3 separate regions of the Homo sapiens genome follow, and all the other regions are linked to region 2. Evidence: promoter capture Hi-C in 16 types of primary human blood cells and fetal thymus (Javierre and others, 2016). All regions are on one chromosome and are shown on one strand. The core of a region is centred on a gene start or on the middle of the fragment in contact, and the rest is flanking DNA. Distances in the headings are between cores, read along the strand shown.

Region 1 (4,572 bases), core at 617-3,116, 71 kb before region 2:
AGTAGGTGTATCTATTTATAGAGTACATGAGCTACTTTAATACAGGTATGCAATGCATAATAATCACATCCTGGTAAATGAGATATCCATCCCCTCAAGCATGTATCCTTTGTGTTACAAAGAATCCAATTATACTATTTTAGTTATTCTAAAATGTACAATTAAATTATTATTGACTATATTCACCCCTTTGTGCTATCAAATACTAGGACTTCTTCATTCTTTCTAACTACTTTTTGTACCCATTAACCATTCCTACTTGTCCCCCAGTCCCCCATTACCCTTCCTAGCCTCTGGTAACCATCCTTCTATTTCTATATCCATGAGTTCAATTGTTTTAATTTTAAGCTCCCACAAAATAAGTGAGAACATGTGAAGGTTGTCTTTCACTTTACATAATACCTCCAGTTACATCCATGTAGTGACAAATGACAGAATCTCATTATTCTTTATGGCTGAATAGCACTCCATTGTGTATATATACCATATTTGCCTCATGCATTCATCTGTTGATGGGCAGTCAGGTTGCATTCAAATCTTGGCTATTGCAAATAGTGCTGCAACAAACATGGGAGTGCAGCTATCCCTTTGATATACTGATTCCCTTTCTTTTGGGTGCCTACCCAGCAGCGGGATTACTGGGTTATCCCACTCTATTTTTAGTTTTTTGCGGAACCTCCAAACTGTTTTCCATAGTGGTTGTACTAGTTTACATTTGCACCAACAGTGTACAAGAGTTTCCTTTTCTACATGTCTTACCAACATTTGTTATTGCCTGTCTTTTGGATAAAAGCCATTTTCAAGAAATGCTGATTTTTGTAAGTTCATTTTGTATCCTGCAACTTTACCAAATTTGTTTATCAGTCCTAATAGTATTTTTGGTGAAATATTTAGCTTTTTCTGGAAAAGGATAATTTGTCTTCTTCCCTGCCAATCTGGATGCCTTTTGTTTCTTTGTCTTGTCTAATTTCTCTGGCTGGGACTTCTAGTACAATGTTGAATAAAAGCGATGAAAGTGGTTGGGCTCTATGGCTCATGCCTGTAATCCTGGCACTCTGGGGAGCCAAGAGGGGTGGATCACCTGAAGTCAGGAGTTAGAGACCAGCCTGGCCAACATGGCAAAACCCTGTCTCTACTAAAAGTACAAAAATTTAGCCAGGCATGGTGGTGGGCACGTGTAACTCCAGCTACTTGGGAGGCTGAGGCAGGAGAATTGCTCGAACCCGGGAGGCGGAGGTTGCAGTGAGCTGAGATTGTGCCATTGCACTCCAGCCTAGGCAAGAGATTGGGACTCTGTCCCAAAGAAAAAAAGTGGTGAAAGTGTGCATCCTTGACTTGTTCTAGACCTTAGAGAAAGGCTTTGAATTTTCCCATTCAGAATGATACTAGCTGTAGGTTTGTCTTATATGGCGTTTATGGTGTTTAGGTATGTTCCTTCTATACCTAGGTTTTTTAGAGCTTTTATTATGAATGAATGTTGAATTTCATCAGATGCTTTTTGAGCATCAATTGAAATGATCATAAGGTTTTTGTCCTTCATCTTCATGACAACCTATCAAAATATGTGTGGTTATCATTTACATGTAGCGGAGGATAATAAGGTGCCCAAGGTTACAACATGGAGCAGGCTGAGGCTATGACAAGAACCCCAGCAGTCCAGCCACAGAGTCTCCATGGTAACCATTAGACTGCCCTTCTGACTAATACATTACATTCCTGTTCTCATTTTCCTTAGTTACCAAAAGGCACCATTCTCTTATTCCAGAGGCACTATAATACACTTGAATAGGATGCAGATAACTTTCCAGTTTCTAGTTCTAGCCCTGCCTTTCAAATGATAGGTTTTGTTGAGTTCAGCTGGATCTTTCAAACTTTCTATTCTCATCTCACATATTTTTAGGCATTATCCAGCTCTTTCTGGCTCTTTTGTACTTGCCCTATACACAGTGTGCAGATTTCAATCATGCTATGGTGCAGCAAGAACACTCTCACCAGATGCTGGTTGTGTATTGTTGGAGCTCCCAGACTCCAGAACTGTGAGCTAAATAAACTTCTTTTCTTTATACATTACCCACTCTGTGGTGGTCTGTTATAGGAACAGAAAACAAAGACCACTAGCCATGAACAATTCAAAAAAATTAAAATAAATATTCCATTTATAATAACATCAAAAAGAATATAATACTTGGCAATAAATTTAACAAAGGATATGTAAGAGTTGTCCACTGAAAACTGCAAATATTGCCGAACTAAATTAAAGAAGACCTATATAAATGGAAAGGCCTTCCATGTTCATGAAGTGGAAGACTTAATATTGTTTAGATGCCAATATTCCCCCAGAGTAATCTATAGATTTCATGCAATTTTGATTCAAATACCAATGGCTGGTTTTGCAGAAATTAAAAATCCAATACTAAAATTTATATGAAATTGCAAGAGACTCTGGATACCCAAAATAAATCTTTTTTTTTTTTCCTTTTTCAAAACAGAGTCTTGCTCTGTCACCCAGGCTGAAGTGCAATGGCACAATCTCAGCTCACTGCAACCTCCACCTCCTGGGCTCAAGGAATCTTGAAAATATAAGGGCAAATTTGGGGGGGCTCACCCTTCCTTGATTTGAAAATATATTACAAACTAGTGTAATCAAAACAGTGTGGTACTTGCATAAAGGTAGACATATAGACCAATGCAATAGAACTGAGTGTCCAGAAATAAACCCATATGTTTATAGTCAATTGATTTTCAACCAGGGTACGAGGACCACTCAATGTGGAAAGAACAATACCCAGTTGCCCTAGCAACTGGATATTCACATGCAAAATAATGAAATTGTACCCCAACTTCACATCATATAAAAAATATTTCAAATATATCAAATACCTAAATGTAAGAGCAAAGCCTTAGAAGAAAATGTAGAGATTAATCTTTATGATTTGGATTTGCCAATGAATCCTTAGATAAGATAGGAAAGGCATAAGCAACAAAAGAAAACAGATAAATTGGACTTCATCAACATTTAAAACTATTGTGCTCAAAAGACACTATCAAGAAAGTGAAAAGGCAACCTATAGAATGGAAGAAACTATTTGCAAATCTTATATCTTAGAAAGGACTAGTATTCAGAATATATAAATAACTTTTACAACTCAACCAAAACAGACATCCAATTATAAAATCTGCAAATAACTTGAATAGCCATTTCTCCAAATAAGATACACAATGGACAACAAGAACATGAAAAGTTGTTCAACATCATTAGTCACTGAGGAAATGCAAATCAAAACCACAAAAACATATCACCTCTCACCCATTAAGATGGCAATGATAAAAAAAGAAAAAGAAGAAAGAAAAAAATAACGTTTTGATGTGGAGAAATAGGATCTCTTGTGGGCTGCTTTTGGGAATGTAAAATGATGCAGGAGTTATGAAAAACAGTACGGTGGTTCCTCAAAAATTAAAAATTGAATTATTATATATCCAGCAATTCCACTACTAAGTATATATCCAAAGCAAAAGTACTCACAGTAGTCAAAAGATAGAAGTAACCCAAATGCCTATGGACGGATGAATGGATTTTTAAAAAATGTGGTCAATACATATCATGGAATATTATTCAGTCTAAAAAAAAGAAGGAAATTGTGACACATGCTGCAAGAGGATTCTGGAGCACCGTACACTAACTGAAATAAGCCCATCACACATATAAACAAATAGTATATGACCACTTATTATCAGGTATCTAGAATAGTCACATTTATAGATACAGAAAGTGTAGGATTTTGGGAAAGGGAGAAACAGTGAGTTGTTAATAAGTATAGGGTTTAAATTTTGCAAGACGAAAAGAGTTCTGGAGACTATTTTCACTACAATGTGAATATAGCACTACTGAACTGCACCCTTTAAAAGTATCTAAGGTGATACATTTTATGTTATGAGCATTTTACTTTAATTAAAATTTTAAAGCATGGTGGCTCATGCCTATAATTCCAATGCCTTAGGAGGCCAAGGTGGGAGGATAGCTGGACGCCAGGAGTCCGAGGTGAACCTGGGCAATATAGTGAGACCCTGTCTCTATTTAAAAATTTAAAAAGTAGCCACGTGTGGTGGCATGCACCCATAGTCCCAGCTACTCAGGCGGCTGAAATGGGAGGATTGCTGGAGCCCAGCATTTGGAGGCTTCAGTGAGCTACGATTGTGCCACTACACTTCGGCCTGGGCAACAGAGCAAGACATTGTCTCTGAAAAGACAGATAAATAAGTAAAGTAAGTTTTTTTAAAGCGCTGCACAAACATCTGATTATCATTATATTAATGAGGCTAAGATCATGAGATCTGTTCAGATTCTGAAACAGTATTTAAATTCTGGCTTCCCACTGATTAATTGTTTGACCTTGGAAAATATGCTTAACATTTTTGAGCAGCCTCAGTTTCCTTCTCTATAGAATGAGAATAATAACATCTTTTCTGTAGGATTGTTGAATTGATTACATGAGATAATGTATGCAGTACAGAACAATACTTGGCCCTTAAACTGGATTATCATTAATGTTGCTATTAAAACTGAGAAAAGTC
Region 2 (3,931 bases), core at 285-2,784:
AGATGGTAGGAAATGAAAGAAGCACCTGATCAGAGAAGGCAGGCAGGGAGTTATTAGAAGATTCCATTGAGAGAGAAACAGAAAGAATACAATGTTTAATTATATGCTAAGAGAGAGTTGTCTATGTCCCTAAAGTGCAGTGAAAGCCAATGGAAAGGAGGGGATGACGATGCAAGAAGAGGCGATGGTTAACTACTGATGCAGTGAGTCTGAGAAGGGACTGGTAAACACAAAGTTGGGGTTAACCTCCGACTGAGGGCAGGGTATGAGAGAAGGTGCAGAGAAATGTAGAGGTGAGAGGTAGGCATAGTGAATGGAATGGACTATGAAAAAAGGAAGCCACGGCCTAATGGGAAACAAACAAGAAATCCCACCAACCTTGAAGTTCTGATACTGCCATTTTATCAATTGTGTGACCTGTGCCAAGTGACTTAACATTTTTTTAATGCCTCAACTTCCCTTTTGGTAAAAATGGGGGCGCTAACTTCCAACTCCAAAACCAGGTGCCATTGTCCCACTTACTTGCAAGTGCCTTCTTAGATGTTTCTGTTTTTGTTTTAACGTTTCCCTTTCTGGGCAGAGGAGCTTGAAGATGGGCTGGATCTTATTAGCAAAGCAGGAGGGTGGGTCATCTGTGTACGGAGACAGTGATGTCATAAGCCTGAGAGATCACGAAGGGGTTGTAGCAGTGCTGGGCATAGGCTAGAGAAATTAACACAACGTGAATAAAGATTTGCAGGCACCAGTGAGAACCCAAGGGAGATTAGAGAGCAGGGAGGCCTGATAGAAGAGGAATCAGGCCCCTAGCTGAAAAAGTGTTGGGGAGGTGTGCTACAAACTTCGTTTTATTTTTATTTATTTTTTGAGACAGGATCTCGCTCTGTTACCCAGGCTGGAGTGTAGCCGCGTGATCTTGGCTCATTGCAGCCTCGACCTCCCAGGCTCAAGCGATCCTCCCACCTCAGCCTCTGGAGTAGCTGGGACCACAGGCCCGCGTCACCATGCCCGACTAATTTTTGTACATTTAGTAGAGACGCGTTTTCGCTATGTTGCCCAGGCTGGTCTCGAACTCCTGGGCTCAAAAGATCCTCCCGCCTCGGCCTCCCAAAGTGCTGGGATTATAGGCATTAGCCACTGCGCCCGGCACAAGCTTCGTGTCTGAACCTGGCTCACCGGTGGGCATTGAGCAGAGCCCACCCTGGAATCCACTCATCTCGGGAGGTTTGGGGATGGGCTTCAGCGAGTTCGGAGGCCCCGGAAATCGCCCAGATGCATTAATTTCCAGAAGGCTTGCAAGGGGGTCTCAACACAAAGATTAGGAAGCTGTAACCAGAGTTTGGTAACCCCACCGGGAACGCGAGCCGCCTCCCAGCCTTGCGCCCTGACGCGCTCTAGCAGTGCTGCAGAAACTTCGAGAACTTCGTTTTCATCTCTTCCCCAACGCACGACCTCGGGCTTTTTCTTTTTGTAAACTGCTGAGTGTGGAGAGGCCCCGCCCTTCCGCGCCCAGCCGCGGGGCCGCCCCTGCCTCCTCCCCGGTACTCCTTCCTGGACCGCGCTGGAAGCCCTGGCGGCGGCGGCCCATGGGGCCCTTGGCGCTGCCCGCCTGGCTGCAGCCCAGGTAGGGCGCTCGGCCGAATCCCGAGGGGAGGGGGCGCGGGTGGAGGGCCTGGAGGCGGGAGCTCCCCTCTGCGGCGGGCGGGCGGGCGGCACCCCCCGCCCGCCAGCAAGGCGCAGCGCTACCGTGCCCAGGCACCCCTTGGAGCTCATGCAGGTATTTGCTAACTTACCCCTCTTGACCACCCTAGGAAGCAGGCTCTGTTATTTTCTCCATTTTACAGTTGAATGGGAAGGACAGGCTGCATGGCTACCCCTGCCCTTGTGAGCCCTCTGCCAGTACTTCCCTCCCCCCAGGAGCCTTCTCTTGACTTTCTCAGACGCAGAGTTGCGGGGTGATTTTTAGATGTAACAGCCGTGGAAACACCTATCACACGTATAGATTTCAGGGCCTAGTTCCGGCGGGGAACAGATTCAGTCATATAGCGGTAGGGCCTGGGGGTGTATATGTTTAACCCACAAGCCAGGTAATTCTGATACAAGCTGAAGGAGGATTTCCTCTTCCCAAACCCTTTAGCAGTTCCTGCCTTTATAGGGGAGGATGTCCCCAAATAAAAATCATTCTGCCTCCCAGCTTATTTTCCTTGTTTCTAGGAGGTTTCACATCTTCAAGGAGGAGTAAATCTTGACCACACTGGCAGGGCCACTCCCGTCACTCTTCTGAACTCCCAGGGAACATTTCAAACAGTGCTTTTCCTAACTCCCTCAAACCATCTATCTGTCAATCTTCTCTTAGTCATCTCCCCAGCAACTCACAACACATTGTTAAACCCAGCTTGACTTCCCTCTTCTGGTATGAGCAACTAAACTGCTTTCGATATGTATCTGATGAAGGAAACTATCTACCCTTGCAAAATGTTAATAGGCAGTGGCAAGATGTTAATACTAACCTCAATCACATAATGTGTTCAAAAGTCAGGTGTGTCCAATTACTGAATTACCCAACATTTGGATTACTCCCATCCCTACCCCCCTTCAGAACTAAAACACTGTGTCTCAAGTTCTGCACTTAGCAAGCTGAGCTACTGGAACACATAGTGACATGTCAACCACTCTGCACACATGGATTTTTTGTTGTTGTTGTTGTTTTGTTTTTTATTTTTTATTTATTTTTGAGAACAGAGTTTTGATCTGTCGCCCAGGCTGGAGTGCAGTGGCGCTGTCTCGGTTCACTGCAGCCTCTACCTCCCAGGTTCAAGTGATTGTCCTGCCTCAGCCTCCTGAGCAGCTAGGTAGCTGGGATTACAGGCATACGTTACCACATCCGGCTTTTTTTTTTTTTTTTTTGTAAGTTGCCATGTTGGCCAGGCTGGTCTTGAACTTCTGGCCTCAAGTGATCCAACCCGCCTTGGCCTCCCAAAGTGCTGGGATTACATGCCTGAGCCACCGCGCCCAGCCTGTTTTGTTTTTTTAAAGAATATTCAAAGCCACCTTCGCAGTGGTTTCTTTTATTCCTTGGTGAGCAGCAAGGTTAGAACTTTATCAAAGATGAAAGCAGATTTTGAAAAAGCACTATATTTGGTTTTAAGCAAACTCACTATACAGATGGTCCATGACTCACAATTTTTTAAACTTTGTGATGGTGTGAAAATGATATGTATTCATTAGAAACCGTACTTCAAATTTTGGATTTTAATCTTTCCCCAGGCTAGCGATGTGCAGGTATGATATCCTTTCATGATGCTGGGCCGCGGCATCAGGCCGCAGCTCCCAGTCGGCCGCATGATCAGGAAGGTAAACAACCGGTACTCCACAGTGCACTGTGTTGCCAGATGATTCCACCCAACTGTAAGCTAATGTAGGTGTTCTGAGCAAGTTTAAGGTAGACTAGGCTAAGCTGTGATGTTCTGTAGATCAGTTGTATTACATGCATTTTCAACTTATGATATTTTCAGTTTATGATATTTTCAGCTGATGGGGTGTACCAGGACGTAACTTCATCATAAGTGAAGAAGCATCTGTATTTACTTTAGCGGGTAGTGTAGGTTATGGCTCCCTTCAAAATCTGATATGTACTTGGGGGTAACCAGATAAAAGACTGATATGAAACAGTTTTCTTTTGCTTTCTCAGGTTGGCCAGTACATTAAAGGGCATGTGTACAGTGATGAAAGGATGATTATAAAAGAAGTGTTTAATGGTATTTTCCTGTATTTATAGGTATAGGAAGAATGCGTATCTTTTCATCTATTACTTAATCCAGTTCTGTGGCCACTCTTGGATATTTACAAATATGACAGTCAGATTCTTTTCATTTGGAAAAGGTAAAACTCCGAAACAGTTTTTTTATTTTTAACTTTTAATCCTTGTTTTCAC
Region 3 (3,932 bases), core at 551-3,050, 87 kb before region 2:
AGAATGCTCTCATCAATGGATTGATGGCCCAGGGATACACAAGGGCTGTGCTGAGGCTCAGAAAACAATACCCCAAAATGACGGCCACAGAAGCAGCCTCAGAAGCAAAACTTTCTCTGACTTCCTCCTGCCCCTCTCTCTTTGACCCTTATTCTCTAGAATCTCTCTTCCCAAGGCAGGCCATAGAAACCAGAAATCCTTTCCCCAATGACAACCATAAAACCTAATCATATTAATTCAACCTTCTCCTTGTCTTTCTGCATAAAAACTGGCCATAAAGAAATTATTTTACCTGTTTTATCTAAAAGTAGATTATAACTCCATTCAGAGAGGGCCCTGCCCCATTCCCAGAGTAAGGAATGTTGCACAAAAAAGCCCAGAAGAATCTAGACAGACAGGCCTTGCTAGGCTTCCTCACTCAGTCTATTAGCATTAGATCATGCCCTTTTTATCCAGTCATTTTTCTACATAGCTGTCCAATTCTTCATTAACCTAAGCATAGAAATGGTGTCTTTGGCCCTTCAATCTGAAGGCTCCCATGACACATAAAACTATGATAAAATTAATTTGTATGCCTTTTCACCTATTAATCTATCTGCCTTTTGTCAATTGATTTTCACGGAACCTTCAGAGGTCAAAGGGCAAGATTTCCCCTGGCCCCTACAGCTGCCCACCCAACATCTTCTACCAGGTGCTACCTGGACTCCCTCTGCGAGAAACTCCACATTGGCTCTATCCAATACAGACTTCAGTGAGCCTCCAGCCTGGGTTTACTTTTCTCTTTCGGTATCAAGCACTTGTCTGAGCTGGACGTATTTAATCCTCACAACCACTCTCAGGCATAAATGCAGCCAGGCCTAGAGTTAAGAAGAGAATACACAGACAACACACAGCAGCTGCTGAATAAGCACCAGCTCCATTCCCTCCACAAACAGGTGAACATGTCTATTATCGGTTTTCTGCAGGAGCTTCCTGTCTCTGAAGCAGTTTCTGGCACTTCTTTAAAGTTAAACCAAAAACCCTTCATACCATTAAAACTTACAACTAAATGCAGTTTTATTTCATCATAGATAAACAGGGACTGTACAATGACTGCACAGGGACTGTACAGTGAACCGGATGGTGCAAAAATAACAATAAGAATGATGCAACAAGTGAAAAGGGAACTAAATGTGAGTTGACAAATTGGATTTGAAGAATGGAGCGGGGATTCCTCTCTTGCCTGGCACGTGCCTGAGGAGAGTGCAGCTTATCTTCACAGAGCACAGGATCCTTTTTCTGGCTTCCTGAAAGATGCCTGTGTTATTCTGGTGAAAGCTTTTAGCTCCTCAAATGGTAGACAGAACCAAGAAACCAGGAAAGTAAAGTGTGCCATTGTAGACAGCTGGTGTGTGTGTGCCAGGTAGCAGTGCTTCTGTCTATACCCTGGGATCTTTGCTGCAACATGCTTGCTTCAGTCACCAAGTGAATGGCTATTTCTGCCTCTCCATTGTGAGTAGTTGAGCTGGCATTAAAATGTTCCCTGGCCAGTTTTCTTGAAATTAACTCACTTTCCTGCAGAACTAGCACATTAGGGAATAATCCTCCAATCAGTTTCAAATAGGAGAGCTAACGTTTAAGTACCCTTAGTTAAGTGCCAGGAATCATTCTGAGTGTGTTATATAAATTAAACAATTAATCCTTGCCACAATTTTACGAGGTAGGACTATGGTTATCTTAATTTTACAGGTAAAGGAACTGGGCACACAGAGTTCTATTTCCTTTTCCTGTGTTAAGACATCCAAAAATAGTATTCTGCTCCTTGAAATAAAAAATATGATATGGAATATGAAAGGAAAATCTTCAGGGAAATAGCATAAATAAAAAACAATCACAACTTCTGGAAATCAAGGACACACTTAGAGAAATGCAGTTTTAGCAATAGAATTGAACAAGCAACAGAAAGAACTTCAGAGCTCTAAGACAAGGTTTTTGAAGTAACCCAATCCAACTAAGGCAAATAAATAAGAATTTTAAAAAAGAACAAAGTTTCCAAGAAGTTTGGTATTATGTTAAATGACCAAACCTTAGAATAATTGGTGTTCTTGAGGAAGAAGAGAAATCTAAAAGTTTGGAAAACATATTTGAAAATACAGTTGAGGAAAACTTCCCTGACCTTGGTAGAAACCTAGACATCCAAATACAAGAAGCTCAAAGAACACCTGACAAATTCATCTCAAAAAGATCATCATCTAGGCTCATAGTCACCAGGTTATCTAAAGTCAAGATGAAGAAAGAAGCTTAAGAGCTGTGAGGCAAAAGCATCAAGTAACCTGTAAAGAAGAAACCTATGAGAGTAACGACAGATTTCCCAGCAGAAACTCTACAAGCTAGAAGGGATTGGGGTCATATTTTAAGCCTCCTTAAAAAAAAAACAACTATCAGCCAAGAATTTTGTATCCACCAAAACTAAACTTCATCAATGAAGGAAAGATAGTCTTTTCCACATAAACAAATGCTGAGAGAATTCACCACTACTAAGCCAGCACTACAAGATCTGCTAAAAAGAGCTCTAAATCTTGAAACAAATCCTTGAAACACCAAGCTAAAACCTCCTTAAAGCATAAATCTCACAGGAACTATATAACAGTAACACAATGAAAAAAAAAGGTATTTAAGCGACAAACAGGCTGATGAATAGAATAGTCCCTTACACCTCAGTACTAATATTAGAATGGCAAAATGGATAGGAATTCACCAATCAAGTTTCTGCTGTCTTCAGGAGATTCACCTAACACATAAGGACTCACATAAACTTCAGGTAAAGGGGTGGAAAAAGATATTCCGTGCAAATAGACACCAAAAGTGAGCAGAAGTAGCTATTCTTACATCACACAAAACAAGCTTTAAAGCAACAGCAGATAAAAAAGACAAAAAGGGAAATTATATAATGGTAAAAAGACTAGTCCAACAGGAAAATATCAGAATCCTAAATATATATGCACCTAAAACTAGAGTTCCCAAATTTATAAAACAATTACTACTAGACCTAAGAAATGAGATAAATGACAACACAATAATAGTGGGGGACTTTAATACTCCACTGACAGCACAAGACAGGTCACCAAGACAGAAAGTCAACAAAGAAAAAATGGACTTAAACTATAGCCTAGAATAAATGGACTTAACAGATATTTATAGAATACAGGATAGAATGCTATCCAACAACTGCAGAATATACATTCTTTTCATCAGCACATGGAACATTCTCCAAGATAGACCATATGATAAGTCATAAAACAAGTCTCAGTAAATTTAAGAAAATTGAGATTACATCAAGTACTCTATCGGACCATAGTGGAATAAAATTAGAAATCAACAGCAAAAGGTACCCTCAAAACCATGCAAATACATGCAAATTAAATAACCTGCTCCTGTATTATCATTGGGACAACCATGAAATCAAGATGGAAATTTAAAAATTTTTTGAACTGAATGATAATAGTGACACAACCTATCAAAACTTCCGGGATACAGCAAAAGTGGTGCTAAGAGGAAAGTTCGTAGCATTAAATGCCTACATCAAAATGTCTGAAAGAGCACAAATAGACAATCTAAGGTCACACCTCATGGAACTGGAGAAACAAGAACAATCCAAACCCAAACCCAGCAGAAGAAAAGAAATAACAAAGACCAGAGGAGAACTAAATGAAATTGAAACAAAAAAATACAATAGATAAATGAAACAAAAGGCTAGTTCTTCGAAAAGATAAATAAAATTTATGGACCATTAGTTAGATTAACCAAGAAAAGAAGAGAGAACACCCAAATAAGCTCAATTAGAAATGAAATGTGAGATATGGCTACTGATTCCACAGAAATACAAAAGATTATTCAAGGCTACTATGAACACCTTTATGTGCATAAACTAGAAAACATAGGAAATCGATAAA

What was found. Contacts are between HindIII fragments. The CHiCAGO score rates a contact against its expected background, and 5 or more counts as called.
Region 1: a fragment that was not itself captured here is called in contact with the fragment with the promoter of HACD4 in region 2 in 3 of 17 cell types (neutrophils, monocytes and megakaryocytes); the score reaches 7.0 in neutrophils.
Region 3: a contact is called between a fragment that was not itself captured here and the fragment with the promoter of HACD4 in region 2, in 1 of 17 cell types (megakaryocytes). The highest score is 5.5, in megakaryocytes.

The regions. Positions count from the first base shown.
Region 1 is chr9:21,099,610-21,104,181 of GRCh38, reverse strand. No RefSeq gene overlaps it. Among named protein-coding and RNA genes, the nearest start is that of IFNB1, 24 kb to the right of the region's middle. The HindIII fragment of the contact is 5,655 bases long and covers 1-4,572 here.
Region 2 is chr9:21,029,243-21,033,173 of GRCh38, reverse strand. HACD4 (3-hydroxyacyl-CoA dehydratase 4) reads left to right here and starts at 1,534. Exons shown (of 7, transcript NM_001010915.5): 1 at 1,534-1,621; 2 at 3,776-3,879. The coding sequence starts at 1,584. LOC105375989 (a long non-coding RNA gene) reads right to left here and starts at 1,532. Exons shown (of 3, transcript XR_007061435.1): 1 at 1,174-1,532; 2 at 523-702. RefSeq lists an enhancer at 1,195-1,755 and a silencer at 1,399-1,758. The HindIII fragment of the contact is 3,612 bases long and covers 1,153-3,931 here.
Region 3 is chr9:21,116,499-21,120,430 of GRCh38, reverse strand. No RefSeq gene overlaps it. Among named protein-coding and RNA genes, the nearest start is that of IFNW1, 23 kb to the left of the region's middle. RefSeq lists an enhancer at 1,181-1,440. The HindIII fragment of the contact is 962 bases long and covers 1,320-2,281 here.